Linked DNA regions of Homo sapiens: regions 1, 3, 4 and 5 are each linked to region 2. Evidence: promoter capture Hi-C in 16 types of primary human blood cells and fetal thymus (Javierre and others, 2016). All regions are on one chromosome and are shown on one strand. The core of a region is centred on a gene start or on the middle of the fragment in contact, and the rest is flanking DNA. Distances in the headings are between cores, read along the strand shown. Region 1 holds the start of ZNF839 (zinc finger protein 839). Region 2 holds the start of RCOR1 (REST corepressor 1). Region 3 overlaps TRAF3 (TNF receptor associated factor 3). Region 4 has its middle 1.4 kb from the start of EXOC3L4. Region 5 overlaps TRAF3 (TNF receptor associated factor 3).

Region 1 (2,700 bases), core at 38-2,537, 270 kb before region 2:
CCCGTCTCTACTAAAAATACAAAAATTAGCCAGGCATGGTGGCGGACGCCTGTAATCCCAGCTACTCAAGAGGCTGAGGCAGGAGAACCGCATGAACCCAGGCGATGGAGGTTGCGGTGAGCTGAGATTGTGCCACTGCACTCCAGCCTGGGTGACAGAGTGAGATCTTGTCTCAAAAAAAAAAAAAAATTGTGGTAAGATACCCATAATATAAAATTCACCATTAAAAAATAACACGGAAGGGATCATCGTGAATGCAATGTGAGTATTGATGAGGATGGTGGTGATCTTCCAGAACCTTCTCTGACGCCACCCAGGCCGCCAGCCTTACTTTACCGGCTTCGGCGCTCATCATACTGTGCTGCAAATGCCAGTTTCCTCCTTCCCCCTTGGGAAGTTTCCTCCTTGGGGGTCGGCACCTAGACTGTATACCCCCCAGGGCGGAAACAGCGGTTCACCCACCAGGTGCTTAAGAAGGGTTTGTGGACCAGTGGACCTCCTGCTCTCCCTGGGGAAAGGAGCTGGGACATGTGTACACACCTGCAGCTACAAGATTCGGAGGGCGCACAGAGCCTCAACCGTAAGAAGGAGAGGCGATCAGGCTGAGGAAGATGGGGCAGTGGAGCTGGATGGATAGAGAGAGGGTGGGTTCATTCATTCGTTCACTCATTCGTTTATTCATATTCATCCATCCATCATTCATGCCCTGAGCGTGCGTTGTGTTCTGGGCAGGGCCTGTGCTGGGCACCGATTGTGTAATATATCATCTCTCCCTTCAAGGTGCACCCAATCTGGGTGGGTGGGTAGAGAGAAGCTACGGTGACAAGGCAAAAATTTGGGAAACACTCTCGTTAACAATTCAAACTGTGGTCCCCTCCCAGATGTATAAATCCAAATGTTTAGGGGTGGGCACAGTACTCTGCATCTCCAGACAGCATCCTCCGCTGATTCGGATGCATGATGACGTCAGAACACTTGGATATTGTGGTAACTTTTGGGCCAGGGGCTCTGAAACCCCGAAGACCTCCCCCTGGGAGATCCGGGACAGCTCCCAGAGAAGGTGAGTCTTAAACACATCCGTGACAGGCAATAAGGAAAATAAGGGGGGTCCGCTCTGCTGATCAGCCCTAAGAGCCGCGGCGGTTGTCGGCTGGGGCGGGGCACTCCACGACTTTCCCGGCCAGACACGGTCGCCTTCCTAGGTGTCTTGGCCTGCGAGGCACTCGTAGCCCGCCCCTCTCCTAGGTGACGTACATTGGAGACGCCGTCGCTCAGCGACCCGGGTTCGAGTCCCCGCCTCGGCCGCCATGGCGGATGCGGAGCCGGAGGCTGGGGGCGGCAGCGAGGATGGCGGCGGCGGCGGCGGCCCGGCTCCTCCGGGCCAGAGCGGCAGCGTCGCACGTGTGGCCCCGCTGGGCCCCGAGCAGCTGCGGCAGGTCCTGGAGCAGGTGACGAAGGCGCAGCCGCCGCCGCCGCCGCCCCCCTTCGTGCTGCGGGACGCGGCGCGGCGGCTGCGGGACGCGGCCCAACAGGCCGCCCTGCAGCGGGGCCGGGGCACCGAGCCCCCGCGCCTGCCGCGCCTGCTCCCGCCCCAGGTGAGGCGTCGGGAGGGACGTGGGGAAACTGAGGCCCGAAGGGGGCCGACGCCCCGCGGCGGGGTAGCTGCTTGTCCGGGGAGGCCAGTATCCGCCCGGGTTAAGACTCAGGGCGTCCCCAGGCTGAGCTTCTTAGGGACGGCGTTCGGCCCCCACCTGTCACCACCCTGGCATTTTCACCCCAGGAGCCTCACTCTAGGAGCGGTTGCTCACGCTGGGCCCTGTGCCTGGAACGCCCTCGTGCCTTCTCTGCCTTCACAGCCCTGCTGGGGGCTTTTGCGTGCTCCCTAGCTCTTCTTACAGGCCTTTCACCGCTGGTTCAGCCTTTGTGGAGCACTTAGAGACCGTGTTCCCAGCACTCCCCACTATGTGCAGGAGGTGAAGCCTTGAACACACTTGCTGAAGAACGAACATAAGGCAGGTTCTGGGATTGACGGGGGCTGCTTTAGAGTGGGTGGTCCCGTAGGCCAGACACTGGAGCTGAAACATAAATGAATTAAAAGGAACCAACTTAGCTTTTCAGTTGTAAGGTGCCAAGGCCCAGGCTTGGAACAAAGTCAAGCACAATACACTAGTTCGCTGCAGGACTTAACATCCTGGGTGATAGTGACTGATTTGTAACCGCAGTACCCAGCACAGTGCCTGATACACAATGTTTGGAATATGTGAAAGCACTCTGTATACTACAAAACATCCTTTCCCAGTGGGTTTATTTCCTGGGCCACACACCTTTTGGTTGCTAGGGGGGTGATAACTAGAAGACGGTCGCCCAACTCCGGAGGGTGAAGCATAGCGCCTGAAGCCAGAGGGCCTACACGGCATCTGTAAAATTCCACCCCATTTCAGCGCTGGGGTTGTAAACAAAATTAGTCTCACCCCAAAATTGCCAAAAGAAGACAGCTTTTTCCACTAGAAGAAACGGGTTAGGGAATAGAATCAGGAACCTTCACTCGTTGAGTTTTTTTGACTGATGTTAGCTGCTTAGGGTTGTATCCAGTTAATCATCAAGACTGGAGAGTTGTCTTGCTAAGGTTTAGGAAGACCAGTGTGATTCTGTCCAGATGCCACACTATCACTATCTAGAGGTGTGACCTTGGGTAAGTCA
Region 2 (2,700 bases), core at 201-2,700:
GGCAGAAGTGAACGTGGTCTCTTCAATAAAGTTAATAATGGTTCATGCTGCAGAAAATGTTCAAGACAAAACCCTGCTTATTTACTCAGGCTTTAAAACCATAAAACTCCCAAATTCTCCCTGTAGCTATTTATATCCAGAGCTAGTCCCCAAATTAAGCTCAGGTTTGAAGTAACTTAAAAGAAAAATAGCCTTCCCTGCTTTAAAAAGATTTTCCGTATAGACCTCCACTGGTCTAATTACGAAGGGCGCGTAGTTTCAGGGTTGGCTGGGGGTAGGGCACCGGGACCTCCAAGGCAGTTACACTCCTCAGCCTCCTAACAGCTGTACGGCTGCCCGGTGGTCCCTCTCCAAGGCAGCGGCTCTCAGGCTAGCCTCAGCCTACCCCACCCGCCCGCACCCCGTGTTCTCCCTCGTGGGGGTGCCGGGGGGAGTAGGGAGGCGGGGCGGGCGGCAGGTCCGGAAAAGTGGCTGCCCTCGCCCCGAAAGAAGTTGACCCTCCTCCCGTGCCGAGAGCTTGGGATGAAAATAGCTTCTTCCTCTTTACCCTTCCTGGACCCCCGCCCCAGGACGACTGGGCCCCTTCATTCATCTTTCAGCGGCCACCCAGGCGGCTTGGGCGTCCCCACGCCGGGACTCTGTGCCCCGGGGACCCACGGGGACCCTCCCTTGGGCCTCTGAAGCCGCGGCGCACCCCGCACCCAAGCCACCCCGGGGGCCCCGGCCTCCCCCACCCAATTAGCGGGCAGCACCGCAGACCCGAGTCCCCACGCAGCTCGCGCCAGGGGAGGCGGCCGCCTGGGAAGCCCGTCCCCCGCGCCGCGGCCCCCGCCCCCGCCAGCCCCGCGTCCCCTGGGAAAGGCGGGGGCGCAGCGAGTTTCCCCCAATTAGTTTCCTCTTTGTATGGAGTCTTAGCGCGCCCGTACTCCTCCGCGCAGCGGAAAGTAGTCCCGGCCGGGCGCTCCGCGGCTTCCCAGCGCCAGACACATTTTACTTTGAGAAGTCGACGGGACTCTCAGCGGGGTCCTTCAGATGGGGGGCCAGAGGCTGCGGGAGGCGTGCGCGGGCAGCAAGGGCAGGGGCCGCGGCCAAGGGTAGGGGGCGGGGAGGGCCGCGAACTCCTCGCCGCTGCCTGGAGAGATGGATCATGGGGCGTAGGGAGATGGCAAACCTCAAACCACGTACGGCGGGCGATACGCGTCAACCGAACCTCGCCAACGGAAGCCCGGAGCCGCCCCTCCCCGCTCCCCCGCCCCGCCGCCCCGGACGGACGGGCGCGCGGAGCCAACCCCGCTGCCGCTGGCTGTCCAAATCCCACCAGAGCCAATGGGAGCGCGAGGGGGGGCGGAGCCATCTCGCGTCAGTTGGGCTGCGCGCCCCCCTCCCCCGGCGCCCCTGCAGGCCCCGCCCCTGCCTCCTCCCCTCTCCGCTCGCTGCTCCCGGAGTAGTTGGTGCCAGTGAAGTGAGGGCGGCGATGAGAGCGAAAGTTGCGCTCGGCTCGTCGCTGGGGGCTTGAAGCGGCTCCGCGCTCTGCCCGTTTGGGCCTCCCCCGACTCGGACTCGCGCCCGTGGGCTCCCGCCGCGCCCGCCCGGCCCCGCGCCGGCCCCGCGCCCCCTCCCCCGTCTCGGCGCCCCCTCCTCAGGAGCCGCGGGTCCCCGCCACTTTCGCACGGCCCCGGCCCCCGCCGATGCCGGCCATGGTGGAGAAGGGCCCCGAGGTCTCAGGGAAGCGGAGAGGGAGGAACAACGCGGCCGCCTCCGCCTCCGCCGCCGCCGCCTCCGCCGCCGCCTCGGCCGCCTGCGCCTCGCCAGCCGCCACTGCCGCCTCGGGCGCCGCCGCCTCCTCAGCCTCGGCCGCCGCCGCCTCAGCCGCCGCCGCCCCCAATAATGGCCAGAATAAAAGTTTGGCGGCGGCGGCGCCCAATGGCAACAGCAGCAGCAACTCCTGGGAGGAAGGCAGCTCGGGCTCGTCCAGCGACGAGGAGCACGGTAGGTGGCAGCCGCCCCCGCGGCCCCGGGCCCCGCGCCCCGCGCCGCGCTGACCGCCGTATTCTGCTTCCCCCGCAGGTGGCGGTGGCATGAGGGTCGGACCCCAGTACCAGGCGGTGGTGCCCGACTTCGACCCCGGTGAGTAGCGGCCCCGGCCGGCCGGCGGCGGGGATGAGCGGGAGCCCCGGGTCCCCGGCGAGCCCGAGGGGGCGGGAGCCCGCCGACAACTTTCTTTTTGTGCGTTCGCCCTGCCGTCCGTGGGGAGAACAGCAGGGCGAGGACGAGGAGGCGCACACGCACACGAGTGTTCTGCAAACGTGCCTCTGCACCCGGGGGAGGCCAGGTCGCCCCCAGCAGGGCCGGCGCCGCTGCCCCCTTGCGCCTCCGAGGACTGCGGGTGGCGTCGGAGGTGGCCACACCTGGCCTGGGGGCGCTGGGGGTCCCTGCGTCCAGGTGAGCTGCGCCTCGGCCAGGGGTAAGGGTGGCAGTGCCGGAGAGTTAGTGTCCTGCGAGCGCCCCGGACTTAGGAGGTCCCCAGAGACCCCTTTCTCGGAACCCTTCCCAAAGGCTGCTCCCCACGCCTTTGCTCCTCCTCTCAGCCTCTGGGCTCTTGCTGGCTCCTGACTGCCCTCCCATCCAGAAGGCGAGTAGAAGAACGACCCCCCAAAACCAGTCAATAAAAGAAGTGTGTTTTCCAGAGGGCGCCTGCCT
Region 3 (2,700 bases), core at 28-2,527, 280 kb after region 2:
AAAGGTTTTTTCTTCTTCTTTTTTTTTTTTTTAAAGAAATGGGGGTCTCCCACTGTCGCCCAGTCTGGAGTGCAGCAGTGCGATCATGGCTCACTGCATCCTCTACCTGCCAGGCTAAAGCAGTCCTCTTGCCTCAGCCTCCTGAGTAGCTGAGACTGCAGGCGCATATGCTGCCTTGCCCAGCTAATTTTTTAAAAAAATTTTTGTAGAGATAGGGTCTCATTGTGTTGCCTAGGCTGGTCTCAAACTCCTGGACTCAAGCAATCCTCCTGCCTCGGTTTCCCAAAGTGCTGGGATTTTAGGCTTCAGCTACCACGCCCAGCCTCGTTTTCATTTTCAAAGGGAAATCTTTTCATTATTAGACTAACTTCAGACTGCAATATATGTTTAAAGAGAGTGTTTTTCAACCACAGGCTAATGCTGCTTTTTTTGGTGAAAAATGAGTTTTAACAGCATGACCTTTAGAAGGAACCAACAGTTTTACAAATCATTCCCCAAATATGGTCTCTTATGTGGTCTCTCCATTTCTCCAGCAAGCGATCTATACAATGTATTCAGTTGTGTCCAGTTCTGCTCTTGTCCTCTGGTGACAGCTGCACCATAATGGCCACCTGCTCCGTGCTGGCTCCCGGAAGGCCCCAGAGTCTGAATGTGAACCTGGTCCTCCTCTGCCCTCATCCTGAAATTATGTCAAAGTTAATAGAAGATGTTTAGATGCTCCAGAGTGATCGTTAATTATCAAGTCTAATTCATTTTCTTTTGGCTTAACTAATAAAAGATAACAGTTAATGTTATTTAAATTGTGTCTCTTAGTGGGGGCAGCTTCTTCATTCTACTTCTAGAAATCAAGATGGTCCTTAATGCTTTCTGAAGTTCACTTAAGAGTTCCTCTCTTGTTTTTTTTTTTTAAGTGGTTTTGCCTTGTCCAAAGTAGCAGCATGTGGAGATTAAGAAATATTAATCCTCCAAAATAATGATCTTTCATTTTCAGGTGTTTAAGGATAATTGCTGCAAGAGAGAAATTCTGGCTCTTCAGATCTATTGTCGGAATGAAAGCAGAGGTTGTGCAGAGCAGTTAATGCTGGGACATCTGCTGGTGAGTAGCAAAGGGACACTGGAACCTTTTACATGAAGGAATTCGAGTCCCTTACATCCAGCTGATGAAGTGGTCAGTAGGATGTGGCACTTTAAGACCATGTTGACATTAGTTTTTCAAAACACAGCCAAATAGGAAAGCAGTCAGAACCACTTGAGTATAAGTTGTTATTTTTATGACATCATTGGCAGAATTGTCAACTGGTTTTTAAACACTCCCCCCCCTACTTAGAATAGAGAAAATCTGAATTGGATTTTAATTTTGGAAGGCCCATTAAAACCTTTTTTCACCATGAAATTCTACATAACTTCTTATTTTTTTAGTTAGTACCATATTTTAGCTTAGAAAATTATTTGAACTGGAATAAAACAAAGTTCTTAGCAGATATTCATTTATCCTGGAAGCAGAGTTGACTTAATTCTTCAACAACAATATGGTTTGAGTAATCATGAAATAGAATATGAAATTCAGTGTCTCTTGGCATACTTGTTACTCTTTGCTGTGGAAAACTGGTCTAACAGCAGATGAGAAACATTTCTTTAGGGTTTCATTGCATAGAGATTAGAATCTGGTATTTCAGATTTAGGGTTTTTTTCCCAATTAAGAACATTGAATGGTCTGTCTTACAGGTGCATTTAAAAAATGATTGCCATTTTGAAGAACTTCCATGTGTGCGTCCTGACTGCAAAGAAAAGGTCTTGAGGAAAGACCTGCGAGACCACGTGGAGAAGGCGTGTAAATACCGGGAAGCCACATGCAGCCACTGCAAGAGTCAGGTTCCGATGATCGCGCTGCAGGTGCGGGTCCTCCCATTCCACAGGCCTTCCACTCAATTCCTATATGATACATTCCACAGGCCTTCCGCTCAATTCGTAGATAATCCGTTCCACAGGCCTTCCCTCAACTCATAGATAATCCGTTCCACAGGCCTTCCACTCAGTTCATAGATATTCCGTTCCACAGGCCTTCCGCTCAATTCATAGATAATCCGTTCCACAGGCCTTCCCTCAACTCATAGATAATCCGTTCCACAGGCCTTCCGCTCAGCTCACAGATAATCCGTTCCACAAGCCTTCCGCTCAATTCGTAGATAATCCATTCCACAGGCCTTCCGCTCAGTTCATAGATAATCCGTTCCACAGGACTTCTGCTCAGTTCGTAGATAATCCGTTCCACAGGCCTTCCCTCAACTCATAGATAATCTGTTCCACAGTCCTTCCGCTCAATTCATAGATAATCCGTTCCACAGGCCTTCCCTCAACTCATAGATAATCCATTCCACAGGCCTTCCACTCAATTCATAGATAATCCGTTCCACAGGCCTTAGGCTCAATTCATAGATAATCCGTTCCACAGACCTTGTGCTCGATTCATAGATAATCTGTTCCACAGGCCTTCCCTCAACTCATAGATAATCCGTTCCACAGGCCTTCCGCTCATCTCGTAGATAATCCGTTCCACAGGCCTTCCGCTCAGCTCATAGATAATCCGTTCCACAGGCCCTCCCCCAACTCATAGATAATCCATTCCACAGGCCTTCCGCTCAGCTCATAGATAATCCATTCCACAGGCCTTCCGCTCAGCTCATAGATAATCTGTTCCAC
Region 4 (2,700 bases), core at 189-2,688, 500 kb after region 2:
TTTGGTGGTGGGGGTCCTGCTCCCTGGCCTTCCCTACCTGGGAGCCAGGTCCTCAGCCAAGGTGAACCCATTTGATCCCGACGACAATCCCATTTTCTGGAGGAGTAAACTGGGGCTCAGAGATTGAGGTGCCTCTCCAAGGTCGTGGGGAGCTGGGCTTGCCCTCTGGTGGGTGTCCCTGGCTAGGCCTCTCCCTCCTAACGGCTCCCCACCCGGCCTTCTCCTGACCCCAGACCAACCTCGTGACCCAGGCTTCTTTGAGATAAGGCTGGGGTTTTTCCAAAGGGATTTTACTGAGAAACTTCGGGAAAACATGGACATAGCATGAAAGAAACATTGCAACCTCATGCTGAAAAGCGGGCACAGGCTCAGGTGCCTGTGGAGAGCAGATGGGAGTTGAGGGGACTTCCAGGAGCAGTCCCCAGGCCCTGGGCACCACCAGCTTTTCAGGCACCTGTGTATTGAATGGAGCGACCCATAATTGGAGGTCCCAGGACCCCAACATGCCCTGGGAGCTGGGGGGCGGGTGGGAGAATTAGACCGGGAAGTCTCCAGTCCACCAAGGCCTGGCTGTATGGGAAGACCCAGTCCACAGAGCCAGAGACCTAGGTCGCAGTCCTGGCCTCTCTGGGCACCTGTGTGGCCGAGAGCAGGTCACTGAGCCCTGGGGAGCCAGCCACCTTGGACCCCGGCTGTCTCTGCTCAGTTTTGCTTATTCCCTGTTACCCCTCATCTCTGCCTGTTGGAGACAGGTGGGGTGGGACTCAGGCCAGCAGGTGGGACTGGGCTGGGAGGAAGGGCCTATGGGCTGCTGGGCACCTCTCGGGCTTGAAGTGGGACTCTTAGCACCCCACTTCACAGAGGGAACCCAGGGCTCAGGGTAGTGACTCAAGTGGTTAATTGGAGGGCTTCCTGGAGGAGGTGCTGGCATCTTTGAGTCTAATTTGGCCCCTCTGCAGATGGTGCTGCAGCATCTCAGGCACCTTCCAGTCTGTTATGGGCTGCTTTTCCCCCATAAAATTCGTATGTTGGGCTGGGCGCGGTGGCTCACGCCTGTAATCCCAGCACTTTGGGAGGCCTAGGCAGTCCAATCACCTGAGGTCAGGAGTTCAAGACCAGCCTGGCCAACATGGTGAAACCCCGACTCTACTAAAAATACAAAAATTAGCCGGGTGTGGTGGTGCGTGCCTGTAATCACAGCTACTCAGGAGGCTGAGGCAGGAGAATCACTTGAATCCAGGAGAATCACTTGAATCCAGGAGGCAGAGGTTGCAGTGAGCTGAGATCGCGCCACTGTACTTCAGCCTGGGTGACAGAGAGAGACTCCGTCTCCAAAAAAAAAAAAAATTCGTATGTTGAAGTCCCAATCTTAGAATGTGACCTTATTTGGAAAATTCCTTATAAAAACACGTGACCTTTAAAGAGGTAATAAGTTAAAATTAAGTCATTCGGGTGGACCCCAACCCATATGAAGAGGAAATATGGACACAGACACGAAGTGGGAAGGCCCTGTGTTGACCCAGGAAGAAGGGGGGGCGCTACCCACAGACCCAGAAAACAGCCCCAGGAGAAACCAGCCCCACACATGCCTTGACTGTGGGCCTCTGGCTTCCAGAACTGGGAGAGAATAAACGTCTGTTGTTGAGGCTCAGTCCCTGGTCCTGTCGTGGCAGCCCTAGGACACTGGATGCATGGGGCCGTCCCTGCCCTCAGCCCTAGGATGCTGGTGCACTGGCCTGTCTCTGCCCTCAGCCCTAGGACAGTGGGTGCATGGGGCCGTCCCTGCCCTCAGTCCTAGGATGCTGGTGCACCGGCCTGTCTCTGCCCTCAGCCCTAGGACACTGGGTGCATGGGGCCTTCCCTGCCCTCAGTCCTAGGATGCTGCTGCACGGGGCCACCTCTGCCCTCAGCCAGAGGATGCTGGTGCAGGAGGCTATTTCTGCCCACCTCAGCACCCTGCAGCAGCCCCATCACACACCCTGGTGGCCCCAGCCCAGGTTGGGACAGGCCTGGATCCGTTCTCCTTGGATTTTCCCTGAGTTGTTTCCTAAGACGCTCGCTGCGGAATCCCCCTATGCAGGGGTGAGGCTGCCTCTTCTGGGAAGTGTCAGTGGCCCTCCCTGCGGCACGTTGCCCGCCTGACCCCCTGGTGTGGGGAGTGGGGCCCCGCCTCCACATCTTTGCCCCTGCCCAGGATGCCGTCCCTTCTCACTTCTGAGTGTGTCCTGTCTGTCCCTAGGGCCCCATCCCTTTCTCTAGCTCCTGAAGCCCCCAGGAATGGCATGTGGCTCTCAACTGCTGCCTTTGCTGTCACCGTGAGCTTCCCTGACAGGCAGGGTGCAGGGGTCTCGGGATGAACTCGATGGACTGGCCCAGTGCTAGAGCCTCTGTCCTGGAGGGAGGGGTCCTTCTGGGCTCCGGCACTGTGGGCTGAGTGTCCCCCGAGGCCAGCGCCTGCTTCCGCTGGCCTCTGAGCAAAGGAGAGGTTGGTGGTGTTTTGGGTGGCAGGCAGCGTCCACCCCCTGCTGCCTCGAGACCCTGAGTGCCGAGCTCCGCAGCCTTCCCCTCCCTTGTTCTCTGACCCTTGGACTGAGCCCTGAGCTGTCTGGAATGGAAAGCTGGAGTGACTGCCTCCGGAACGAAAAGGAAGTGGGAACTTCTCTGAAAGTGAAAGTATGGGGTCCTGGTGGAGGGTAGGGC
Region 5 (2,700 bases), core at 116-2,615, 260 kb after region 2:
ATTAGCCTTTTAGTTTTAGGAGCTTTCTTTTACAGTGATATTTAGTTTGGGGCCTTTGAACTTGGTCTTTGCTTTTGGAGCTGTACTTGTAGGTGTTGTTGTTCCAGCCTGGGAACGAGACATGACCGACTCCAGTGCGGCCTGCTTGCTGTCCTCACCATCAGTCAGTGTGGTCCGTGTGTGAGGCTGCAGTTGTCCTCTTGGCCACTTATTTCTCCTTAATTCTCTGCATGTAATTTAAAACATTATCCCCTGAAACTTAGTTTTTCATTGACTTCTAATATCTTTACTTCTCCTTTTAATTTTCCTATTGAGATACTTAGGATGACATGAAATTCTTTGGATCTACATATGGACAAACAGAATTGTGTCACATAAGGTTCAGTGTGCTAGCTGTTTAAAAAAAATTAAAAACAGTTTGTTTTTTTTAGAGACAGAATCTTGCCCTGTCACCCAGGCTGGAGTGCAGTGGCGTGATCGTAGTTCACTGTAACCTTGAGCTCCTGGGCTTAAGCAGTTCTCCCGCCTCAGCCTCTTGAGTAGCTAGGACTCACAGGCATGTGTCACCATGCCAGGCTAATTTTTATTTTATTTTTATATTTTATTTTTATTATTATTTTTTTGAGACAGAGTCTCACTCTGTCGCCCAGGCTGGAGTGCAGCGGCACAATCTCGGCTTACTGCAACCTCCACCTCCTGGGTTCAAACGATTCTCATATTCTCCTGCCTCAGCCTCCTGAGTAGCTGGGACTGCAGGCTCACACCACCACGTCCGGCTAATTTTTGTATTTTTAGTAGAGACAGGGTTTTGCCATGTTGGCCAGGCTGGTCTTGAACTCCTGACCTCAGACGATCCTCCTGCCTTGCCTCCTAAAGTGCTGGGATTACAGGTGTGAGCCATTGCACCTGGCCTTTATTTTTTTTTAGAGGCTGACTGAGTTTTGCTGTGTTGCCAAGGCTGATCTCAAACTCCTGGTACTTCAAGCAGTCCTCTTGCCTTGACCTCCCAAAGTGCTGGGATTACAGGTGTGAGCTACCACGTCCTGCCTGCTAGCCATTTTTTTATGTTCGTGGTGGTGGTAAGGAGTGGCTACCAGGCTGTGCGGGATTCAGGAATCTGGATGTTCCCCCCACCACCGTTTTTTACCCCACGAAAAAAATTGTAAACACTTTCTAATTGAGATAAAATTTACAAAACAAAATTCACCACTTAAACCACTTAAAGTGTACAACTCAGTGGCTTTGTGTATATTCAGAATGTTACGGCCGGGCGTGGTGGCTCATGCCTGTAATCCCAGCACTTTAGGAGGCCGAGGCGGGCAGATCACCTGAGGTCAAGAGTTCGAGACCAGCCTCGCCAACATGGTGAAACCCCCATCTCTACTAAAAATACAAAAAAATTAGCTGGGCATGGTGGCACACTCCTGTAACCTCAGGCAATTGGGAGGCTGAGGCAGCAGAATTGCTTGGGCCCGGGAGGCGGAGGTTGCAGTGAGCCGAGATTGCGGCACTGTACTCTAGCCTGGGCGACAGAGGCAAGACTCCGTCTAAAAAAAAAAAAAAAAGAATGTTATGCAACCATCACTACTATCTAATTTCAGAATATTTCATCACCCCAAAAAGAAACCCCATACCACTAAGCAGGCACTCTCCATTCTTCGCTTGCCCCAGCCTCTGGCAACCACTAATCTACTTTCTGTATCTATGAATTTGCCTATTCTGGACATTTCATGTAATAGGAATCATACAATATGTGGCCTTTTGTTTCTGACTTCTATAACTTACATAATGTTTTCAGGGTCCATCCATGTTGTAGCATATATAGTACCTCATTTTTTTTTATGCCTAAGTAAGAGTTCATTGTATGAATAGACCACATTTTGTTTATCCATTTACCAGTTGACCATTTGAGCTGTTTCTACTTTTTTTTTCGCTATTGTGAATAGTGCTGCTGTGAACGTTTGTGAACAAGTTTTTGCGTGAACAGACTGGTTCTCTTGGTATATACATAGAGATGGAATTGTTGGGTCATACGGTAATTCTGTGTTTAACTTTTGGAGGAACTGCCAGATTGTTTCCACAAGGGCTGCACCATTTTACATTCCTGTCAACAATATGTGAAGATTCCCATTTCTCCATATCCTTGCTAACACTTGTGATTTTCTGTTTTTAAAATTTTAGCCATCCAAGTGACTAAGTGGTTATAGTAGGTTTTGGTTTTGGTTTTGAGACAGAGTCTTACTTTTGTGTTGCCCAGGCTGCAGTGCAGTAGTGCAAACATGGCTCACTGCAGCCTCACCTCCTGGGCTCAAGTGATTCCCACCTCAGCCCCCCAGATAGCTGGGACTACAGGTGTGCACCACCACACCCAGCTATTTTTTGTATTTTTTTGTAGAGATGGGGTTTTTTACTGTGTTGCCCAGGCATGTCTTGAACTACTGGCTTCAAGTGATCTGCCCACCTCAGCCTTTCAAAGTGCTGGGATTATAGGTGTCAGCTGCCGCACCTGGCTGTTTTTTTTTTTTTTTTTTTAACAATGTTTTAAAATAAATTGTGGTGAGATACACATAACATTAGCCATTTAAAAGTGAATGATTCAGTGGCATTTTGTACATTCACAGTGTTCTGCACCATGATCTCTATCTGGTTCCAACACATTTTTTTCGTTCCCAAAAGGAAACCCCATACCCATAAGCAGTG

Evidence for each region. Contacts are between HindIII fragments. The CHiCAGO score rates a contact against its expected background, and 5 or more counts as called.
Region 1: the fragment with the promoter of ZNF839 here is called in contact with the fragment with the promoter of RCOR1 in region 2 in 9 of 17 cell types (neutrophils, naive CD8 T cells, fetal thymus and 6 more); the score reaches 8.8 in neutrophils.
Region 3: a fragment that was not itself captured here is called in contact with the fragment with the promoter of RCOR1 in region 2 in 2 of 17 cell types (endothelial precursors and M0 macrophages); the score reaches 6.1 in endothelial precursors.
Region 4: a contact is called between a fragment that was not itself captured here and the fragment with the promoter of RCOR1 in region 2, in 1 of 17 cell types (total B cells). The highest score is 5.1, in total B cells.
Region 5: a fragment that was not itself captured here is called in contact with the fragment with the promoter of RCOR1 in region 2 in 1 of 17 cell types (endothelial precursors); the score reaches 5.2 in endothelial precursors.

Annotation. Positions count from the first base shown.
Region 1 is chr14:102,318,459-102,321,158 of GRCh38, forward strand. It overlaps ZNF839 (zinc finger protein 839), which reads left to right and starts at 1,288. Exons shown (of 8, transcript NM_018335.6): 1 at 1,288-1,595. The coding sequence starts at 1,308. RefSeq lists silencers at 1,348-1,447, 1,508-1,697 and an enhancer at 1,798-1,907. The HindIII fragment of the contact is 5,518 bases long and covers 1-2,700 here.
Region 2 is chr14:102,591,199-102,593,898 of GRCh38, forward strand. RCOR1 (REST corepressor 1) reads left to right here and starts at 1,451. Exons shown (of 12, transcript NM_015156.4): 1 at 1,451-1,989; 2 at 2,068-2,127. The coding sequence starts at 1,689. RefSeq lists an enhancer at 54-869 and silencers at 448-1,757, 1,818-2,427. The HindIII fragment of the contact is 8,428 bases long and covers 1-2,700 here.
Region 3 is chr14:102,874,633-102,877,332 of GRCh38, forward strand. TRAF3 (TNF receptor associated factor 3) reads left to right here. Exons shown (of 12, transcript NM_145725.3): 5 at 992-1,096; 6 at 1,726-1,893. Among named protein-coding and RNA genes, the nearest start is that of AMN, 47 kb to the right of the region's middle. The HindIII fragment of the contact is 4,234 bases long and covers 1-2,700 here.
Region 4 is chr14:103,091,964-103,094,663 of GRCh38, forward strand. It overlaps a transcript of EXOC3L4 not described here. Among named protein-coding and RNA genes, the nearest start is that of EXOC3L4, 1.4 kb to the right of the region's middle. RefSeq lists enhancers at 1-157, 1,631-2,200. The HindIII fragment of the contact is 5,265 bases long and covers 1-2,700 here.
Region 5 is chr14:102,852,289-102,854,988 of GRCh38, forward strand. All of the region lies in intron 2 of TRAF3 (TNF receptor associated factor 3), which reads left to right. Among named protein-coding and RNA genes, the nearest start is that of AMN, 69 kb to the right of the region's middle. The HindIII fragment of the contact is 7,690 bases long and covers 1-2,700 here.